2 separate regions of the Homo sapiens genome follow, and region 2 is linked to region 1. The links are contacts of gene promoters, found by promoter capture Hi-C in blood cells and fetal thymus (Javierre and others, 2016). All regions are on one chromosome and are shown on one strand. The core of a region is centred on a gene start or on the middle of the fragment in contact, and the rest is flanking DNA. Distances in the headings are between cores, read along the strand shown. Region 1 holds the start of LITAF (lipopolysaccharide induced TNF factor). Region 2 overlaps LOC400499 (putative uncharacterized protein LOC400499).

Evidence for each region. Contacts are between HindIII fragments. The CHiCAGO score rates a contact against its expected background, and 5 or more counts as called.
Region 2: a fragment that was not itself captured here is called in contact with the fragment with the promoter of LITAF in region 1 in 4 of 17 cell types (monocytes, M0 macrophages, M2 macrophages and 1 more); the score reaches 7.9 in monocytes.

What each region holds. Positions count from the first base shown.
Region 1 is chr16:11,584,518-11,588,936 of GRCh38, reverse strand. LITAF (lipopolysaccharide induced TNF factor) reads left to right here and starts at 2,018. Exons shown (of 4, transcript NM_001136472.2): 1 at 2,018-2,051. RefSeq lists silencers at 1,665-2,144, 2,175-2,254 and an enhancer at 3,155-3,264. The HindIII fragment of the contact is 18,010 bases long and covers 1-4,419 here.
Region 2 is chr16:11,402,828-11,407,246 of GRCh38, reverse strand. It overlaps LOC400499 (putative uncharacterized protein LOC400499), which reads left to right. Exons shown (of 67, transcript NM_001370704.1): 47 at 1-47; 48 at 2,381-2,543. Among named protein-coding and RNA genes, the nearest start is that of RMI2, 60 kb to the right of the region's middle. The HindIII fragment of the contact is 554 bases long and covers 1,759-2,312 here.

The sequences.
Region 1 (4,419 bases), core at 769-3,268:
ACTACTGCTTTTTACAGGAAGGAAGGGAGGAAGCGAGGAAGGGAGGAAAGGAGGAAGGGAGGAAGGAAGGAAGGAAGGAAGGAGAAAAGGTTGGGAGGGAGGGAGAGACAGAAAGGAAGGAAGGAAGAAAAGCATTCATACAGGGATGTTTCTTGAACGTTATCTCTGAGAGATTTTCCCTAGGTGTTATGTCTCCCTAGCAATGGTCTGTGATATTCTGTCTTAATGTCAGTATAATAATTGGTACCTTTGCAAGCCTTGGTTGCATCCTGAGAATGGAGGAATGGCAGAGGTTGGGTGTAATCCAATTTCCTGTTCTTCTCTTCTCCCTCCCTCCCTCCCTTCCTTCTTTCCTTCTCTTTCTTTTCCCTTTCTTTCTTTCTCTTTCTTTCTTCTTTTTCTTTCTTTTTTTTTTCTTTCTCTTTTCCCTCTTTCCCTCTTTCTTTCTTTGTTGCTTGCTTGCTACAGTGCAGTGGCTCGATTATAGCTCACTACAGCCTCAACCTCCGGAGGTCAAGGAATCCTCCCACCTCAGCCTCCTGAGTAGCTGGCACATGCCACCACTCCACCGCTTTATTATTATTCTTTTAATTAAAAAAATTTTTATAGAGATGGAGTCTCACTATGTTGTCCAGCCTGGCCTTGAACTCCTGGGCTCAAGAGATCCTCTGGCCATGGCCTCCCAAAGTCCTGAGACTATAGGCAAGAGCCACTGCACCCGCCCCCTTCATATTTTAAAAGCAGTAAAATGTTGCCCACACTAATAACATCTACATGGGAACCTCCTATGCTTGGGAGAACTTTGAAATCCCTTCCAACTTGGTAACTCGTCCACGGCTGAGGGTGGCCCGTCAGTGGACATGGCGCAAGGTGGCAAGAACTTGGGGCTGGGGACACTTTGCTGAGGGACCCGGGACAAGCCACACTCCCTATCTGGGCCTCACTATCTTTAGGACCTCGGGTAAAGGCATGGGATTTGGGCACCGGAGGGTTCTAAGATCCAGGTCTTTGCCAGCATGGGGCTCGGAAGCTCCCTGTCCAAATGGCGTTTGTTTGTGGATGGCCACATCATGGTTCTGCCCATCTCCTGACTCTGTGTACTCTGAAAGCCAGGCATGCTTCTTAATTCCCTCTAATGATTTCCCAGAGAGCCTGCTGGATCCAGGCTGCTGCTGTTATCACTGCAGCCGGCCGATGGGGCTCCAAGCAGACGGGCAGATGGCACCCATTTAGGGGCGGATGTGAAATGGGGCTACTGATTTCCAGAGCTTGCTTTCAGTGATGGCTGAGAAAGGCCTACCTGGCGGCACGGACCACCCTGGGGGCACAAAGCGGACAGGCAGCTGATAAGCCTTACCTAATACCTATCCTGTGCTAAAAACTTTACCATCTTCCCAGTTCACTCCCAGTCGGTCTTAGGAGACAGGACCGCTATTGTGCCCATTTTGCAGACAGGAAGCCGAGCTCAGAGAGGATGGGTAACATGCCCGAAGGCACAGAGAGTGTCTTGGTCTGTCCGGACGCGTCTGTAGAGTTACAGGAAGAGAAGGGCCGCCCTCCAGAGGGCCGGGAGCGCCCCAGCGCGGGTCCGGGGTCGAGGTTGGTGGTCCCGCCGCCTGGAAGTGGTGGAGCGGCGCGGGGAGGGGGGAAAGTGGGGAGAGCCGCGAGCGGCAAATCAGGAGGGAGGGCCAGGCTGTCGGGGGCGGACGGGTGGGGCTGGCACCGAGAGGCAGGGGCAGGATAGGAGAGTGGGGGAGACACCAGGTCCGCGCCAGGCGTCTCGGGGGTAAGCCTGGGAAGCTCTGGGGTGGCGAGCGAGCCGGGTGTGGGATGGAGCCTGGGGGCGATCAGAGTGAGGCGGGGAACCGGCGGTGGTCTCGCCTGGGGCCCAGGTGCGGGCCGCGGGGGCGGGAGAAGCCGGAAGCCCAAGCCGGCCGCGCTCCGCCCCGGCGGGTCCAGCCCCCGCCCCCGTCCCCGCCGCCCGGCCCTTTTCTCGGGGCGCCCGAGAGGCCAGCTCAGACCTCCCGGCTCGACAGGCGGCGCGGGCGGCGGTGAGTGCGGCGCGGGGACGCCGGGGCGCGGGGACCAGCGGGAGACAGCGGGGGGCCGGTGGCGCCAGCACCTGCTGGGGGCCCCGGGCACTGAGCCCTTGGCTGGGGCCTCCTGGGATGCCAGGGGGCGCGGGTCGGGTCGCGGGCATCGAGGCGCGGCGGAGGGCGTGGGGGCCCGGCCGGGGCGGGGTCCGGCCTCCCAGCGCTGGTCCCGGCCGCGTCTCCGGTTGGGTTCAGCTCCTGCGTCCCAGAGTGGCCCGATCGCGCGTGGCGGGGTCGTCCGGCCCCCACCCGAACGAGCGCCCTTCGCGGCCCGCCGCGTCCCCCTCCCCGGAGAGGACGGCCCCTGGGCTTTTTAGAAAAAGGCGCGATTCTCTCTAGTGACTCAGGTTGAGATTTCCAGAAATATCCCCCGGGGGTTCAGAAACAAAACCAAAACAAACAAAAAAACCCCAACGAATTCCCAAATGCTATTTGCCAAACATTTGACTTCTAGGGGCGCGGGTACCCGCGTTTCTCTCCCTGCCCCCGCGACTTCGCGCAAGATCCGGGAAGGACACCCGAGGCCCCTGGGAGACCCTGGGGAGGTGAAAATCAGAGAGCGAAGCGGGCCGTGGCCCCTAGGCCTGACCCCTCCCCGCGGGGTAAGGCGGGCACCCCGCGAGCGCAGGGGTCCTCTTACTGCTGATGGCACCCAGCTCTGGGCCCAGACGCCGCTCACCGTCCACCGCCGGTGCTGGGTAGGTGCTGGTGGGACCAGCTGGTGACTGGTGGCAGAAGTGGATCTCGCCCCTCCCTGCCAAGCTAGGCAAATACCCTCCCCGCTCTGGTTTGCAGGTCACTGTGGATAGGTGGTCAGTTGGTGGTGTGCCCGAAGCTCTTCGGGGTCAGGGAGAGGAGGTGATAGGGGAAAGGTGTATGTTCTGGAAGGGCCAGTCATGCTTCAGGGACCAGGCTAGTTGGACCTTCACTGGTTTTCTACTTCCCGACAGTGGAGCTGATGTCACTGGCTGTTGGACTGAGCAGTGGTCACTGGGAAATCTACAGTTTGTGGAAGCCACGGGGTCTTCCAAGCTCCTACCAGTCTTCCCAAAGAGGATGCCTCCCTCCCCTTGGCCTGGTGCACTGGTGCTGGTTCAAAGACTGTCTGAAGCCCAGCTTGGGGTCCTCTTTAGGAAAGCCATGATTTGCCTTAATGTGTGCTTGGCTGCTTCATCTGCCCTCTCACCCCCTGCCTTCTCAGAGTGACTCTTTTTAGGACTTCCTATTTAGGACTAACCCAGATGCCTACAGAGAGAAGTGCAGGCTGGTATCTGGAATTCCACCAGTGTTTTGGTTTTATCAGTTGGAGCAGGATCTAGATGGCGTGTGACTTGCTTTACCTGGCATAGAGTAACACCCATATTGCACTTGGCTTTCTTCTCCACCAGCCCTTGCTCTGGGAACTAAATGTGCACCAAACTCTCTAAGAAACATTTAATTGTAATCTACCATGAGGGAGGCCCATCTCCCTCTTTCCTGTTACTTTAAGGCATGAATAATTGATGCATTTATTCACATTTGAGAAAGTATCTTGTAATGTTTTCACAGATTAAGTGACTGGGTGATTGATCTAAGACGTAGGATCAATTTCTTTCTTTTTTTTTTTTTTTTTTGAGACAGAGTCTCACTGTCGCCTAGGCTGGAGTGCAGTGGTGCGATCTCGGCTCACTGCAACCTCTAACCCTCCCCACCCCACCTCAACCCCCTGCCTGAGTTCAAGCAATTCTAGTGTCTCAACCTCCCAAGTAGCGGGGATTACAGTTGGGTGCCACCATGCTTAGGTAATTTTTGCATTTTTAGTAGAGACAGAGTTTTGCCATGTTGGCCAGGCTGTTTTCGAACTTCTGACCTCTAGTGATCCACCTGCCTTGGCCTCCCAAAATGCTGGGATTACAGGTGTGAACTACCTCACCCGGCCCATTTCTTAAGTCTCTAAAATAGTAGATTGAAGTGTAATTCACTGTCTTTGGGGAATACATTTCCCTTTGTTACTTCCGTTCCTTTTATGGGCGGGCTGTTGAGAAATAAAGCGCTACCCTTGCCGTGTAAAGGATGCAGAAGAATGGCTCCTGGTCCTGAGGGGTTTACGCAATGGGTAGAAAGTAGAAACACACACCGGCGAAAAAGCTGGTGCTTGCTAATGCCCTTGTAACTCCAGAAAGGGCTTGAGAACAGTGGAAAGGAGGCAGCTAAGTTAGAGAAAGTTTCATGGAAAAACTGAGGCCTGAGCACATGTGGCAGAAGGAACATGAGGACATAGTTCAGACAAACAGGAGGGTCTCAGTAGAGCTGTGGAAGAGGTACAGACAAGCCCAGGTGGTTGAAG
Region 2 (4,419 bases), core at 786-3,285, 180 kb after region 1:
AGGCCGGTCTCAACAATTTCATCAAACTGGAACAGACCTTTCTGCAGGTGTGTGGAGGTCAGCCCAGGGCCGGAGCACGCTGGGGTGGGGGGCCTCTGGGACAGCCCTTTGAGAAAAGAAAAATTGTCCTAGTGTCCCGGTTCCTGGGCGGAAGGACAGACAAGGCTGTGAAATGGACACAATGTGCTGGATTTATTGAGCTGGATTTATTGCATGATTTATGGAGCATCTACTAGGTGCCAGGCACTATTTCAGAAGCTGGGGCGTGACCTAAAACAGATCTGATCAATCCTTCCTCTCATCAAGTGTCCACTCTAGCGGGGGAGATTGACTCCCCGAAATCACACAAACGAAATATGCCAGATAGTACTATGATACGGAGAAAACGTACTGAAGTGACTGAGAGTGACCAAGGAGCTTATTTAGATTAGGTGGCCAGGAAAGGCCCCACTGAAGAGACGACACATGAGCTAGCGGTGGATGATAAGCACCAGCCATTTGAAAATCCGGGGGAAGGCCGGGCACGGTGGCTCGCGCCTGTAATCCCAGCACTTTGGGAGGCCGAGGCGGGTGGATGACCTGAGGTGAGGAGTTCGAGACCAGCACGGCCAACATGGGGAAACCCCGTCTCTACTAAAAATATGGAATTAGCCAGGCGTGGTGGCACATGCCTATAATCCCAGCTACTTTGGAGGCTGAGGCAGGAGAATTGCTTGAACCCAGGATGTGGAGGTTGCAGTGAGCCGAGATTGCGCCGTTGCACTGCGGCCTGGGTGACAAGAGTGAAACTCCATCTCAAAAGGAAGAAAAGAAAAAAGAAATCTCTGGGGGAGGGGCATTCGAGGCAGGTAAAGAGACTGTGGTATATATACACCATGGAATATTACACAGCCGGAAAAAAGAATGAAATTCTGTCCTTTGCAGCAGCAGGGATGCAATTATCCTAAGTGAACTAGCTCAGAAACAGAAAACCCAGTATCACATGTTCTCACTTGTAAGCAGGAGCTAAACATTGAATACACATGGACATAAAGATGGAAACAGTAAACACTGAGGGCTCCAAAAGGGAGGAGGGTGAGAGGGAGCCAAGGGTTGGAAAATTACCTGCCTGGTATGATGTTCGATATTTGGGTGACAGGGACGCTGGAAGCCCAGTCCCCACCATTACACAATATACCTATGTAACAAACATGCACACTGACCCCCTCAATCTAAAATACATTTTTTAAAAAGAGTATTCCAGGCAGAGGGAACAAGACATGCAAAGGGCCTGGGGCAGGGATGGGTTTGCATGTTTTAGGAATGGCCAAGGAGCCACTGGGCTGGAGCTGGGTGGGTGGGGAATGGTAGGAGGTGGTCTGATCACACAGGGTCAGTCAGGCCACAGGGAGGCGTTTGCATTGTGTTCTATCTGCTACTAGAAGCCTTTGAAGCCATGATCAAATAAATGATGATTTCAGATCCCTCTGGCTGCTGTGTGGGGAGGGACCTACAGGTGGCAGAAGTGAGCAGTGAGGAAGCCCCATAATGGGCAGGGGCAGGGCAATAATAATGCGTGGACCAAGCTGGGGGCAGTAGTGATAGGTTTTAGAGACGTTTAAGAGCAAACTTCCTTCCCCACCCCAGCAGTCCCCCTGCAGTGCCCTCAAGTCACCCTCGGACTGTGGCACCCACCAGCAGGGACGGCGTCCCTCTCCGAACCTTTGCACAGGCTCTTCCATCTGCCTAGAATGCTCTTCCCTGCCTCCTCCCCAAGCTTGCTTCTCTGCGTTCCTTTCTCCCTTGAATGTCTCTTGTGACCATCCTTGTCACCTTATCCCATCATTTTCTGTCCTGTGACTATCTCGACTATCTCCCTGGGAGCCCCTTAAGGGCCAGGACCAGGTCTTGGCTAGCTTTGTACCCAGGCACTCAGCACTGGCTTGGGAGCATGATACCTGCTCGCTACATGATTGAGAAACCGCAATACCAACTGCGTGCCTCCTACAAGCTCCTCTCCACCGTGTAGCCCTGGGCTGAGTGCACCACTTGTATCATCTTGCAAAGGTTGACACTTTCTGGCCTCCATTTTCTAGGAAACTGAGGCTCAGAGAGGTTGAAAAATGCCCAGAGCCACACAGCTTGGCCATGGAATTGAGAAGTGGCTGTTCTGTGCTGTCTCCTGTTGGCCATACTCCCCTCACCTACTCCTCTCCTTTAAATTATCTGCTCATCCTTAGGAAGCATTTGGGTTTTTGATCCCCTGACATATGTCACCATTCAGGAAACTGTAAATGATCCACAAATATTCCCTTTTTCCTCCTCTGCAAGCTTCTCTTCTTTCCCATCCCAGGCAGAAGCATGGGTCGGGTTCCCCCATGACGCCGTCATTCTCTTCCAGCTCAGCGCTCTTCCCAGGGAGCTGTTCCTGCAGACCGCATACGAGCGAGCTCATGGGACCCGTGTCCTGCGCCAGGTGGTGCTGTGGGATGGCCAGGAGGTGGCCCTCACCGGGAGCCTTTCTGGGCCTTTCCCCAAGCCCACCAGGAACCTCAGCCTGCAGGGTGAGTGTGTGAGGGGCTGCAGGCAGGGGTGGCCCAGTCACTCAAGAAATCATCCCTGGCCAGGCGCGGTGGCTCATGCCTGTAATCCAAGCCCTTTGGGAGGCCGAGGTGGGTAGATCACTCGAGGTCAGGAGTTTGAGACCAGCCTGGCCAACATGGTGAAACCCCATCTCTACTAAAAATACAAAAATTAGCCAGGCATGGTGGCAGGCACCTACAATCTCAGCTACTTGGGAGGCTGAGGCAGGAGAATCGCTTGAACCTGGGAGGCAGAGGTTGCAGAGAGCCGAGATTGAGCCAGTGCATTCCAGCCTGAGCGAGAGTGAGACTCGGTCTCAAAAAAGCCATGACTGAGCACCTGCATATCCCAGGTGTAATCTAGGCACCAGGGGTCCATCAGGAAGCAAGATGGCCCAGGTGTCACCCCTCAGGGAGACAGGCATTGAGCAACAAGATGCACATAAGCAAAATAACGTCAAGCATGACCATTTCCACGAGTGGGAAAGGCTGTGAGAGCAAGCAGGGTCTTTGTGGGGTGTGGGCCTCCTTTAGGTGGGGTGGTCTGGGAAGGCCTCTTGGAGGAGGTGACTTCTGAACTGAGTTCTGAAGGATGAGAAGGAGCTGGCAGATCTGAGCAGAGGCACTTCAGGCGGAAGGCCCCACTTGGAAATGAGGTTTGCATGTGGAGCAGCAGCTGCGGGGCTAGCATGGCTGGAATGGGGAGAAGGGATGAGGCGAGGCAGGAGGGCTGGGGGACCCAGGTCATGCAGCGTCTCAGCTCATAGAGAGGAGCTGGGGCTTATCCTGAGTGCAGCCGGGCAGGGAGAAGGGGCCAGGGCGTGGAAGAGGTGGCATCCCTGGGCAGTTGTGGTGCCAGGGGAGCTGAGTGCCGACACAGCGCCAACAACAGCAGCCATGAGCCCCTGGGTCCTCCAGAAACAGGCATCCCTGGAAGGGGCTGTAATTTGTGGCCTGGGCAGCCACAAGACTTAGTTTCTGTGTAAGGAACCTCCTGAGCACAGAGCAGAGCCCGACCCACAGCCTGCCAGGTGTGGAGACAGAGTGCAGACCCCAGCCTGGAGGCACGGCTTACCAGGTGGCCTGATGGAATCCTCCCAGCGTCACATTTGCCACATGTGTGCCCTGGAAGGCAGAGGAAGTGAGCAGGTCCCCAGCAAGCCAAGGCAGTGTGCATGCGTGTATGTGTGTGCTCATGAGTGTATGTGTGCTCATGTGTGTATGTGTGCATGTGTGTGTATACATGCACGTGTGTGCATGCCTGTGTGTGTGTGTATTTGTGCCACCCTTGGTGAGCTACACAGTCTGCAGCCCCACACGGTGTTGACAGTGTTGCAGGTGGGGTCAGCGGGTGGCAGGAACAAAGGGTTCTAGCCCTGCATGTGGTCAGCCTCCCCAGAACCAATGACTGGGTGATGCCCTGAGAACCAGCCAGTGCCAGTGTCTCTGGGCACGGCTCCTGCAGCCCATCTGAACAGGTGGGTGCCCTTTGTACAGAGCTCACAGGTCACCAGCGTGCACAGGGGCCTCGGGCAGCCTCCTGCTGTGGGGTCTGGGAAAGCAGGGCTGCTCAGGGGCCTCAGGAGATGGGGTCAAGTGATGTCGGAGGTCAGGTCAGCTTGACTCACCTGGGGGACAGAGGAAGAAAACCCGGGGTGTGGAGGCCATCTGTTGTTGCGAGGACTCAGCTATGGGGTGTCACCTGTCACATCCAAGATGGAAGGAGAGCACAGGACAGCAGACGGTGGCATGGGGTGTGGGGCTTCCGAGGGGGCACAGGGCACCTGTGCATGTGAGGCCCCCGAGAGGGATGCAGGTTGTTGAGGTTGCGGCTGCCCCCATCAGCTCCTGATTCAGG